2 separate regions of the Homo sapiens genome follow, and region 2 is linked to region 1. The links are contacts of gene promoters, found by promoter capture Hi-C in human tissues and cell types (Jung and others, 2019). All regions are on one chromosome and are shown on one strand. Each heading gives the region's core, a stretch centred on a gene start or on the middle of the fragment in contact. The rest is flanking DNA. Distances are from core to core; before and after follow the strand shown. Region 1 holds the start of ADAM12 (ADAM metallopeptidase domain 12). Region 2 overlaps C10orf90 (chromosome 10 open reading frame 90).

Region 1 (5,268 bases), core at 991-3,490:
GCCGAGTTGCCCCAGAAAGTACCAAGTAGGCAACTGTGCCAGGGCTCAGGGTACAGACAAGGCTAGGGAGAAACTCAGAATATGCTCAGACTCAACAGGTAGTAATTCCTCCTTTTCTCTTGCCAATGCAAAGAAATGTTTCATTATATGTTTGGCGTTTTATACGGCCTCAATGGTATGATTTGGGGCACTGATTGATTGAAGACTTGATACTGAGAATCTAAGGGTAAACAAGCAGTGAATCCTGGAATATATCACAATAGGTAACCCATTCAAAGTGCTTAGGCCTCCCTGGTTTTCTATTTTGGGTCATATCTGTCTTAAGGAAACACTCTCTCTACCAAAGCTGAACTCATAAAATAGTAAAAGTCCTCCCCCGCCCACACACACAAGAAATAATTTCCCATTATTAGCTGGATTTAATAAACATTTTCTTCCAAAAAAAAAATTTGTCCCTGCTCAGTAGACTTCTCTTTATGTGTACAAAGCACGTGCCAAGTTAAAGACCATGTCAGGCACACTTTGAGACACTTTCCGTTTTTTAAAAAGTTCTTTCTTAATAAACATTCAAAAGGACCAATTTGTTTAAAAGTCTTTCAAAGCACAATTCACTACAGGTCGTAGAGTTCTTTAAACCCTCAGCAGGATTCTTTCTTGACTTTCTCATTGCTTTGTGCAATCTTTGTATTTAATCATTTATCCCCGAATTGGTCTTCGCAGTGTGGCTTTTAACAAGAACTGGGTTTTAGCCACATTACAGTAGACGCGGTGGGGGCGGAGGGCAGCAGTGGCAATCGCAAAATAAAACGTATCATAAAGTGGTAACGGTTCGTGATTTAGGCCAGTTGTTGAAAAATAAATGCCTGTTATATAGAATCACAGAACTTGAGAGCTTGCGGCCAAGGGAAGTCGTTCATCGGTGGACCGACAGCGCCCCGGGCGGCAGAAAGAAGGCGGCGGCGGCGGAGACCCGGGGAAGTTGCCGGATTTTTAAAAAGGCACCTGCTGGGTGAGTCCTCACTGTGCAAACGGGAGCCACAGGTGCCCGATTTTAAGGGGCTACAACTCGGGAAAACCTAAGTCTGTAAAACTAAGTACGTTAAACTAAGTAAGTTCTCGCTGTGCACCAAGTTGATGGGGGCGATTATTTACGGCGGAGAAACTGAGTGGAGGAAGGAGGGAGAATTCCGCTAAAGTTTGCCTGCGACTGACAGCTAGGGAGTGACCTGGAAGCCAGGAAGAGGGGCAGAGAGGAAACTAAAGAAGTAGGTAAGAGAGTCAGTTTATGAAAATAGAGCCTGCTGTGGAGAGCAGCAGGCACACCTGCGGAGGAGGGGGCTGCCTCACCTGCGGGGCCGCTGCGCGCCCCCCTAAGTGTGTTAGCGGGGGAGGCGGGGCTGGAAAGGAAACCTGGTGAAGGGCTGGCCCGGAGCCTGGGGTGGGGATATTCACTGCGGGATAGGGCCAGCAAGAGGACCCGACACGCATCGTCCCGAGTGACACGTGTAAATGTCAAGATACAGAGACATCTGCAAATGTCACCCAAGAGGGTGAGGACGGGGGAGCGGTCCCGAGGCTGTGCCCTCCGGGGCAGGTACTGGCTCCTGTGGGGCTGCGGGCCAAGTGTCGCCCTTCCCCAAGGAATTGGCACCTGGGGGGGGGGGGTCGGTCTCGCCGCGCTGGAAGCGCAAGCCCCGGGGCTCCGGAGATGCGCCGGGGCGCGTCGCCCCTCGGGGCAGCCCTGGACCTCGGCGCGCCCAGGCGCAGCGTGCGGTGCCCTCGGCGGGGCGGGCAGCGAGCCGCCCTAGTTCGGCGACTTACCTCGGGCCTCGCAGGGCGCGAGCAGAGCACCGGCCAGGGCGAGCAGGAGGGCGCGGGCGGGGGACACGGGCAGCGGGCGCGCTGCCATCGTCGCCGGCCTTCAGTGCAGCAGCTCTCGGGCCCGGCGGCGAGCGCTGCACCATCCCACGCGGGCGCCGAGCCGGGGCCGGGCGTCGCGACCGGAGGGATTTCCTGCCTCGGCGAGTCAGCTCCGGAGCCCTCGCGCAGCGCCCGCGCCGCCGCTGAGCTCTTCTAGCCTTTCATTTTTAAAAAAGTTTCCCCCCGTGTGTGTGCGTGCGTGCGCGCGCGCGCGCCGTTCTGGCACAAGCCAGCCTTGACCGTTGCAATAAATGAGCAAACTGTCCGAGTTGGCCCGGGGACTAGGAAGAGCGTTAGTGAGAGAAGGCAGGCCTGTGAAATGGATCCACGGCCAGCAGTCACCGTTCTTATTACCGCGGAACAAATTATTGTCTCCCCCGCACCCCCGCCAGTTGGCGGCGTCCCGCGGGTCCTAGAGACCGCTCGGGTCCCCCCGCCAGGGTCCCGCCCCGAGCCGCGGCTCGCTCACCCCCGAGGGTGGGCGGCTCAGACGTGGCTCAGTGGCGTCCGGGCGCCCGGAGCGCACACGTCCCCGCCCCAGGATGATGTGGCCGCAGGGCCCGGGGCGCCCGGCTGCCAAGCGCACATGCGGCGGCACGGTCCAGCTTTTCAGGCTGAAGCTGGAAACGATGACTCTGCTACTCGCTCCCCGGCTCTCTGGGAACCCTCGGAGTGCGGGTCAGGTCTCCACCGCGGCCCACAGCCCGGCGCGCGACCCCGCCCGGCCCTAAGCGCCCAAAGGGGCATCTCTCGCCCGAGAAACAAGCTTGGACTCGCAGGCACAAGACACCTGGGCGTTACTTTTGATCAACAGTGTTAGGTTTTACGTTGATAGATTGGCTCACGTTTCCATTCCATGACCTGGACCCAGAAAAGGGTGTACAGTGACGTTCCCCAAACTTTCCTGATTGTAAGAAGCACCTGGGTTGGCTTGTTAAAAAGATTCCCGGGCGCCCTCCTACGCTTTCAGAATGAGACTCTCCAGGCTGTGAGGCCAGGGGAGCCCAGGGTGTTTGGAGAAACACCAATGAAAGAATGGTGCGCCTTGCCTTCTCATCCTTGTTCCGGGCTGACCCCACCTCTTCAGCCTCGCTCGGCCCTCAGGGAGACCATGAAAAGCAGCAGCGAGGGGGCCCGCACAGACAGAAATGGCTGGAGCTATGGAGGATGGCTGATGCCCACCCTGCGGGTTACCATGATTCCCAACCTTGGGGACTTATTAGAATAGTAAGAGTTAAAGACATTGCCAGCCCCAGACACCAGTTAACTCAGTTTCCCACAATGCGTGGAGCTCAATAGTTTTCAAAGCCTCAGGTGATTCTACTGTGCTGCTCAGACCTAGGACCACCTGCAGAAATTCCATCCTGGTCCTGCGACCTCGCACCGATTCCTGACGGAGCACCCACTCCTAGGAGGCGGTTATCCAGCATTTGAGGAAGCTGCCTTCCATACCATCTCTTCCCACTGCAGAGGAGTTTTCTCAGGAGTTCCCTCCCACGGCAGGTTTTGCAGTGTTCCCAAAACCCAGGTCGATCCTCCTAACAAGGTGCAGGACTTTCTTTTTAAAAAACCTTAGTGGGAAGCACAGGCTCTCCAGCCCCCTTCCCAATGCTGCCATATCTCAGTACCAGATCTGGAAACCAGGCCTGGTTCAAGCCCTGTGTCATATCTAACCGTACTACCAACCAGCGTTGCAGTGTACTTCTTTTGTTCATTCATTCAGTCAATCTACATGAGCAACCCTATGTTAGAACTTGGGAAACTAAACGAGAAAGCCTCTTGCCTTCAAAGACTTTTCTTTCTGATCAAACTGATAAATCATCATTATTGGACAGTGTGAGCTAGTTACTTAACCTAGTTAATAATGATTAGGCTTGTTTACTGATATGGTTTGGCTGTGTCCCCACCCAAATCTCATCTTGAATTCCCATGTGTTGTGGGAGGGACCTGGTGGGAGGTAATTGAATCATGGGGGCAGGTCTTTCCTGTGCTGTTCTCATGGTAGTGGATAAGTCTCAAAAGATCTGATGGTTTTAAAAAGAGGAGTTCCCCTCCACAAGCTCTCTCTCACTTTCTGCCTGCTACCATCCATGTAAGACATGACTTGCCCCTTCATGTCTTCTGCCCTAGCCATGTGGAAATGTAGGTCCATTAAACGTTTTTCCTGTATAATTTTACCCAGTCTTGTGTATGTCTTTATCAGCAGCACGAAAACAGACTATTTACTACTTCATAATTCATTACATACCTCGTATAATCGGAGTATTGTGCTAACGTCTTTCACCTGCATTATTTCATTTTTTAAGTCCTGAATATACAGATGAGGAAACTGCAGCATAGAGATGTAGCTTTCCCACCACCACACAGTGAAGTAGGTCAGAGCCCAACCTCAGATCTGTTAAAGATAAAGCCTGTTTCTTTAAGGCTGAGTTCCAACCTTCAGTTTTAGCAGCTGTTAAGTGAAGGTAAAATACAAACCTCCCAGGTGGTTGTGAGCACCAGGTGAAATAATGCAATGTCTCCCAACCCACCTGATCCCTGGGATGTCTGTTAAGAATTCAATTCCTCTGGCGTTTGCACTGGAGATTCTCATTAGAAAGGTCTGGGAAGGACAAGTTTTAGCAAGTACTTAGGTGATCCTGATACTTGTGGCCCATAGAACTTCAGACACATCGACGCAAGAGAATTAAAAATTGTTTTCTTCCAGCTCAAAGGGCCAGATTTGCTTGCAGATGAGCCCAGCCACTGGCCTCTCGGATCCTTCTGACTGGTTAAATGGTTTATTCACAATGGACCTAACATGTGCTGTGCACTGGGCTGGGGGCCTTGTATACATTTTCTCTTAATGATCAATTTATTTTCGCTCTTTCATATTCAATTGTTAATGTTGACTGTAAAAGTCCAATTTCTTTTAAACCTGGATGTTGCAAAGCTTCCTCCAAAGAACTAAATGTGCCCCAAGACTGTCCTTGATTTGTTTCTGACTGAACGAAAGAAAACAGCCATTGCAGAGGAAAAATGAAGAAAAATAAAATCCTGGCTGCAAGCTCTGGATTTCAACCCTGTAATTCACCATCTCTGTGAAGCAAGCGGCCTGGGCTGACACTGTCTCCACAAAGCCTTCATAGACATCAATAACAGCCAGCTAAGGCAAAGAGCAAATCCTGCGTCTGGCAGATGGTCTGTCTTTGGATGGAAATTCTGCCTCCTCATTCACAGGAAATGGAAGCCGACATCACATTCAATACTGGATTGTTAGGTAATGGTGTGGGGTCAGAGGCCAGGATCTACACACGAAAATTTCAGATAGATGGCTGGTTGTCCCTTCCTTTCTGGAAGAATTGACCT
Region 2 (5,731 bases), core at 93-2,592, 45 kb after region 1:
CTGTTTGTGGTCTACTCTGGGAAGTTAGATTTTCTTTTCTTTCTTTTTTTTTCAGTTTGTTTCTTTAGAGCACCTGATACCACAATTAAGCTTGGGTTTGATTCCCAAGAGGAAACAACAGCAAATGTGAGCTCTCTGACACCTCCACTCTTGTGTTTCCTCAACTCGGCTCAGCCTGCTGTGCCACACAGAACTTTTGATTCTGGGCCCAGCAGCCCATGTTAGGTGCAAAACAAGCAGGACTGTGTCCAAGGGGGCTTCCCCTGCTGGTGACCTCAACCCATACCCCCGGGGAAGTATTTGCAGGTTGATTGCTTCTGACTTTGAGTTTTCCTAATGGTTCCCAAGCTCATCTGATAAATAGCAGGGTCTTTCCTAGCCTGGAGGAAAGAGACATGAGGAAGTGGTTTGAAATAGAGCAAGTGCATTGCAAACAGCTCCCAACCTCACTTGAGTGAGAGGAACACAACTCACTGGAGCAGCTTTGGGCACTTTGAGAGAGAAAGTGGCTCGTGGTTGCAGAAATTGTGTTTTGGGAGCCCTGACCAAGAACTCCTCCATTTCCCATGAGACCAATCCAAAATTCATTTCTTAGATATGCCTTTCTCCTTCCTTCTACATTTAACGAGCAGTTATGTTGGTAGGGGATGCTCAGAAACAAAAATAACAGATAAGACCGTCCCTTCATGAGATTTCATTTATTTTGGGAGAAGCTGGACAAGTCAAAAACCAGCTAAAGTATCCGGCAAATGCTCTGGTGAAAATGAAATGCCACCATGTGTCAAAGGGGGAATGGAGAGGCAAGAAGTCCCCGCAGGGGAGGAGATATTTAAACCAAGACCCGAATGACCAAAGAGCCAACTGTGGGAGGATCTGGGAGAAGGGCACAGTGAGCTTCTGCAGTAAGAACTGAAAGTGGGTCATCGTGGCTGTGCGGGGAGGGAGGGTGCAGAGGCGAGAGCGAAGATTACTTTGGTTCTCCACCCAGGTGATGCCTTACAGCTGCCTGGGGATTTTGGCAAAGATTCCTGTGTGTTGGCATTGGAATCTCAACCAAAGTCTCCAGATGACTCCAACATGCCCTAGAATAGGAAACCACCCACGTTGGCCTTTGCAAACCTATTTAAGGAGCTTTGCAATCCTGTTAAGGAGTTGCCTTCAGAGTAAGAGAGTTGGAGAGCCATGTGGAGTTTTAAACATGAGATCTGATTTTTATTGCTAAAAGATGACCACAGTGGCTCTTCAGAACATGAACTGGGTGGAGGAGATGCAAAAATGGCAGCAGTGAGATAGGTCAGGCAATTGCAGCCAGGTGGGGAAAGATGGCAGCGTGCAGGTAGCCATGGGACTCTTCTACCCTGTACAGGTAGAAACTGAGTTGTAAGGGCCAGGAGAGATGAATCAAGGATGACTCCCAGGCTTTGGGTTTAAGCAAACCCATTCATTTGACAATTGTAAAGTTTTTATCTCCTTGGTGCTAAGCGATAGGGACATGAAGATAAATAAAACTAAGAGCTCAGAGCCCAGGATGAGAATGAGGTAAATAAGGCCTTTAGATGCCAAGAGCAAAGTCTGCACATGGTGAGGGGAGACATCAGGAGGGAGTGGTCAGGTCCACCAGGGAAGAAGGGCATCTGGGAAAACTCCATAACAGGAGACAGCTGAGCTGGGTCATGAAGTAGAGAGAGACATACCCCAATAGCCTGTGGTTGGTAGGGGTGGGTGAAACGGCAGCCCAGGGTCACATAGACCTGCCTGCAGCAAGAGATGAGTCATCCTTGATTCATCTCTCCTGGTCCCACAACTCAGTTTCTTCCTGTACAGGGTAGAAGACTCTCATGACTACCTGCACGCCACCATCTTCCCCGGCCTGGCGCAATTGCCTTCAGGATATGTACAGCATGACCCACAGGGATTTCACTTCATGGAATGCAAAACCAACCTGCATGAGCTTTGTTTGAAAACAAAACAAAACAAAACGAAAACAAAACAAAACAAAACAGAGAAATCCTATCTATAAAATTACTCTTAATGGAAATTCTGCCTGTATAAAATTAAAGTGGCAGGTGAGAACCATTTTCAGCTTGCTTATGGGTCTCTTACAGATTTTCCTTGAAGTTTCATGTGTTCTAATTCCCTGATATGGAGGGAAGAGACTACAGTTGTGTTTACCTCGAATTATCATTCAAATAGAGGTGGTGTTTTCCCCCAGTAAAATTACTAAGGTAAATTGCCTATTTCTATATTTCTGGAAAATACTTTTTTCCCCAAAAAGTCTTGCATCTGCCTCATTATTGGATCCAAACTACAGTGTCTATTGCTAATTTAACTTGGTAAGGCCAGACTTCCTCAAGCCCTTGCCTGTGTCAAAGTCAGCAAACAACCAGGTACCAAGATTTCAGTGCTTCTGAGAACTACTCAGGTAAGGTCAAAGCCCAGACATCCCATTAATCTCTATAAACACATGTGGGTGTTTATTGTAATCCTCATATCACCTCTGTGCACACACATACACAAGGACAAGTGGCCTCAATATTCAGACAGTTGACAGTGTCACCAGAAGGCAGCAAAGATCACCCTGCCACCAGCATGATTCGTTGTTTTTGGAGCTGGGCTGTTTTTCCTCCATGCAGAGCCCTTATCTACAGCTCTGATTGCAAACTTCATTTTCCCTACTGAAGAGGTAATCTAAATGATAATCAAGTTCACACGATTTATTAGGACAATGCTTTCCAGAAGCCTATTTTCTGAAGTCACCCCGAGCACTTTGAAGGATGTTTTAGACATTTGCTTCCCCTATCTTAGAAACACCAAAACCAAGAGATACCCGTTGGAGAGAATTCAGCAGGGAGTCAATAAGCCAGCCTGGAGTATAGACGTCAAGTCTCTACCTTCCTGAATCTCCTACTAAAGATTGGACCTTCACAAAGAATGGAAATGGGTTGTGTTTAAGGGAACCCCCAACATGTGTGAATTCTAAGATCACAAGGCTGTGCATTATGCAATTCCAAAGTCACTAGGTCTCTGCCGCCGGCCGTTAGAGTAATTCCATCACGGTTCTCAGGGTTTAAACTTGAACATTTCTGTTCAGCTCACCATGGTGGACCCTCTAATTTTCTTGATGTAGGCAATAGGAGAGTGGTCTATCTTGAACCAAATTAGCCCTCCAGAAATTAAACAGCACAGGTTACACCATATGAAGGTGAGTTAACGACTCATAGGTGGTTTGGCTCTGAAGTGCTCTCATGATAAAATCTTATGCTGGACTCTCATTTTCTAAACATTATCCTGTTTCTAAAATCACTTCTAGCCATCTGTGGAATCCCACTGCTGAATGACCGTTGCACATAGCAGCTTGTTTCAGAACCCTGTCAGGTAAGTGGAAGCCACACAGTTGTTGGTATTGATATGAAAGTGATGCCATGTGCCAATTACTGTCCAGACACATGAGAGAGTTGCTGATGTAACAATCTGGAAAGACAATAAGCTCTCAGACCTTTCTGGTGAAGGAATATAAAATTAAATAAAAAATAAGCCAGAGAGTCTCCAGAAAAATCTGTTTCCTTTTGCATACTCAGTTTGAGAAGCAAGGTGTATAGGGCTTCCTGGTTAAGGAAGGTAGATCATTCTCTTGCACACAGAGACTTACCCTTGAGCTTGAGCTCAGAGTCAGGTCACCATCTTGCAGCTTCCATGGAAAGATAGGGTGCTTTGGAGCTACTGGATGGATTTCATAAAGGGTCTGCACCCTTGGTGGGGAGGTGGTGAAGAGAACGCCCCACCATGAACACTGGCAGCCACAAGCCTCCCCAGATCTTCCAAGGAGAGACCCCTGATACAATATGGCAGATGAGGCACAGGACCAGAGCTTTGCTTCCCCAGCTGGAGGATCCCAGACCTCCAAGTCAACCATATCTATGAAAAACATTTTTGGAGAGAAATGGAGTCTTGATGTACTCCCTGAGCCCATGCTGCTCTATCTCTTGGATCCAAGAGCACTGTCCTCAGTCCCCTTCACTTCCTGACTCCCTAGGGGTCTTCTCCTTTATGATTCTAGACGTGGTTTACAGCTGTCTGCCTGGCCAACTCTCTCCCCAAGTGGCACATGAACTCCTGGAAGACAGGAAAGTCTCTTCTCAGCCCCTAATATCCCTGCCTTTTCCCACTTGCACTCCATCCCTATGGTCAAAAGAGACCCAGTGCTTAATATTTTTATTTCTTGGCTGGTTACTCCTCAAGAGATCCAGTAAGAGACAAAGGGTTCCCCATAAAACCTATAGGAACTGCTAAGGAAGGCTGGCACACATCACCTCCTAATTCAGGTTGCCCGTAGTGCCAAAGACCCACGGAACAACCAGCTCTACCTGTGCAAATTCAGTACCCCAATGTTGACAGGATCAGAGACTCTCAAACTAACCAGACTCTTACCCAAGACCAGAAACTTACAATATGAATCCCAGCGGAGGACTCCTGTCAGTTGCCCAAAACATGCATTTCCTCCTAGGGGAGCTCAGCAGTGGCTGACAAAGTGGTACAGACTATTTTCTGCAATGAGCACATTGTTGAATTTGAAGGCAAATCAGCTGAAAGATGGGCAGCTATACCCAGTCTCTAGGATTTAATGATTCAAATTCTTAATGACCTCACTAAACACAACAGGAAATTCAGTTTCTTTCTTTTTACAAAAAAAAATGAGCATTAGAAAATTAAACATCATACTTTTATGATGTATATATGATGATTTCTTTGGCTTGCCTGAGCCTCCATAAAATGATAAAGTCTTGTTACGTATAAGTCTAAAAACCTGGCAAGTCACCTTAGGCCTTTGCTTGGTGCTATGTGCTTTGGGACAAGCTACTTGTGCTAAGATTTGGTTCCTCTGCACCCATTGCGGGAGCAGAATCATTTTTTAAAAACTTTTCTTTTTTGAGCCAGGGTCTCACTCTGTTGCCCAGGGTGGAGTACAGTGGCACAATCATGGCTTACTGCAGCCTCGACCTCTCAGGCTCAAGTGATCCTCCCACTTCGGCCTCCCCTGAATAGCAGGGTTTTTGTTGTTTTTGTTGTTGTTATTTTTGTTTTGTTTTTTGTAGAGATGGGGGTGGTCTCACTTTGTTGCCCAAGATGGTCTTAAATTCCTGGCCTCAAGCTGTCCTCCCACCTCAGCCTTCCAAAATGCTGGTATTACAGGTATGAACCACTGTGTTGGGAATGGTCCATATGAAGGTGCTCTATTAACCATGAAGAAGCTAATGGCAATGCCAACGACCACTGTTTCCCCAGTGTTCCTCTCTACACAGGGCACCTATCCCCCAAATTCATGTTTCAATTCATCCTTACAGCAACCTACTCAAGCTAGTCTTCTCTCCTCTTTACAGGGGTTTTGTGTGTAGGTAAATTACCTCTAGTCTCAAAGTAAGTAGACAAGAGACCTGAGAGTTGAGTACTGATGGAACCAGTGGGATTTTTATTCTCTGCAAAAGATATAAGGTTGTGGTTCTCAAAGGAGGGATTGTATTTTCACATAAATGTCAACATCTGTGTGGCTTCCAGTTACCTTCCAGTCCCTGAACCAGCTGCATCAACATCACCTGGAGACTTGTTACAAATGCAAATACTCAGTTCCTATACCAGGTCATCGAAATCAGAAATTCTGTGGCTAGGCCAGTGGTCAGTGGCTTCAGTAGCTTTCTGGGTGATTCTGACCCCTGCTTGGGTTTGAGGACCGCTG

Evidence for each region. Contacts are between HindIII fragments. The study calls those that stand out against the background at their distance.
Region 2: a fragment that was not itself captured here is called in contact with the fragment with the promoter of ADAM12 in region 1 in 2 of the 25 tissues and cell types used here (bladder and dorsolateral prefrontal cortex).

What each region holds. Positions count from the first base shown.
Region 1 is chr10:126,386,237-126,391,504 of GRCh38, forward strand. ADAM12 (ADAM metallopeptidase domain 12) reads right to left here and starts at 2,241. Exons shown (of 23, transcript NM_001288973.2): 1 at 1,822-2,241. The coding sequence starts at 1,909. The HindIII fragment of the contact is 8,947 bases long and covers 1-3,769 here.
Region 2 is chr10:126,431,752-126,437,482 of GRCh38, forward strand. All of the region lies in intron 7 of C10orf90 (chromosome 10 open reading frame 90), which reads right to left. It overlaps LOC728158 (a long non-coding RNA gene), which reads left to right. Exons shown (of 7, transcript NR_148989.1): 2 at 1,825-2,066; 3 at 3,311-3,375. Among named protein-coding and RNA genes, the nearest start is that of LINC00601, 13 kb to the left of the region's middle. The HindIII fragment of the contact is 3,343 bases long and covers 1-3,014 here.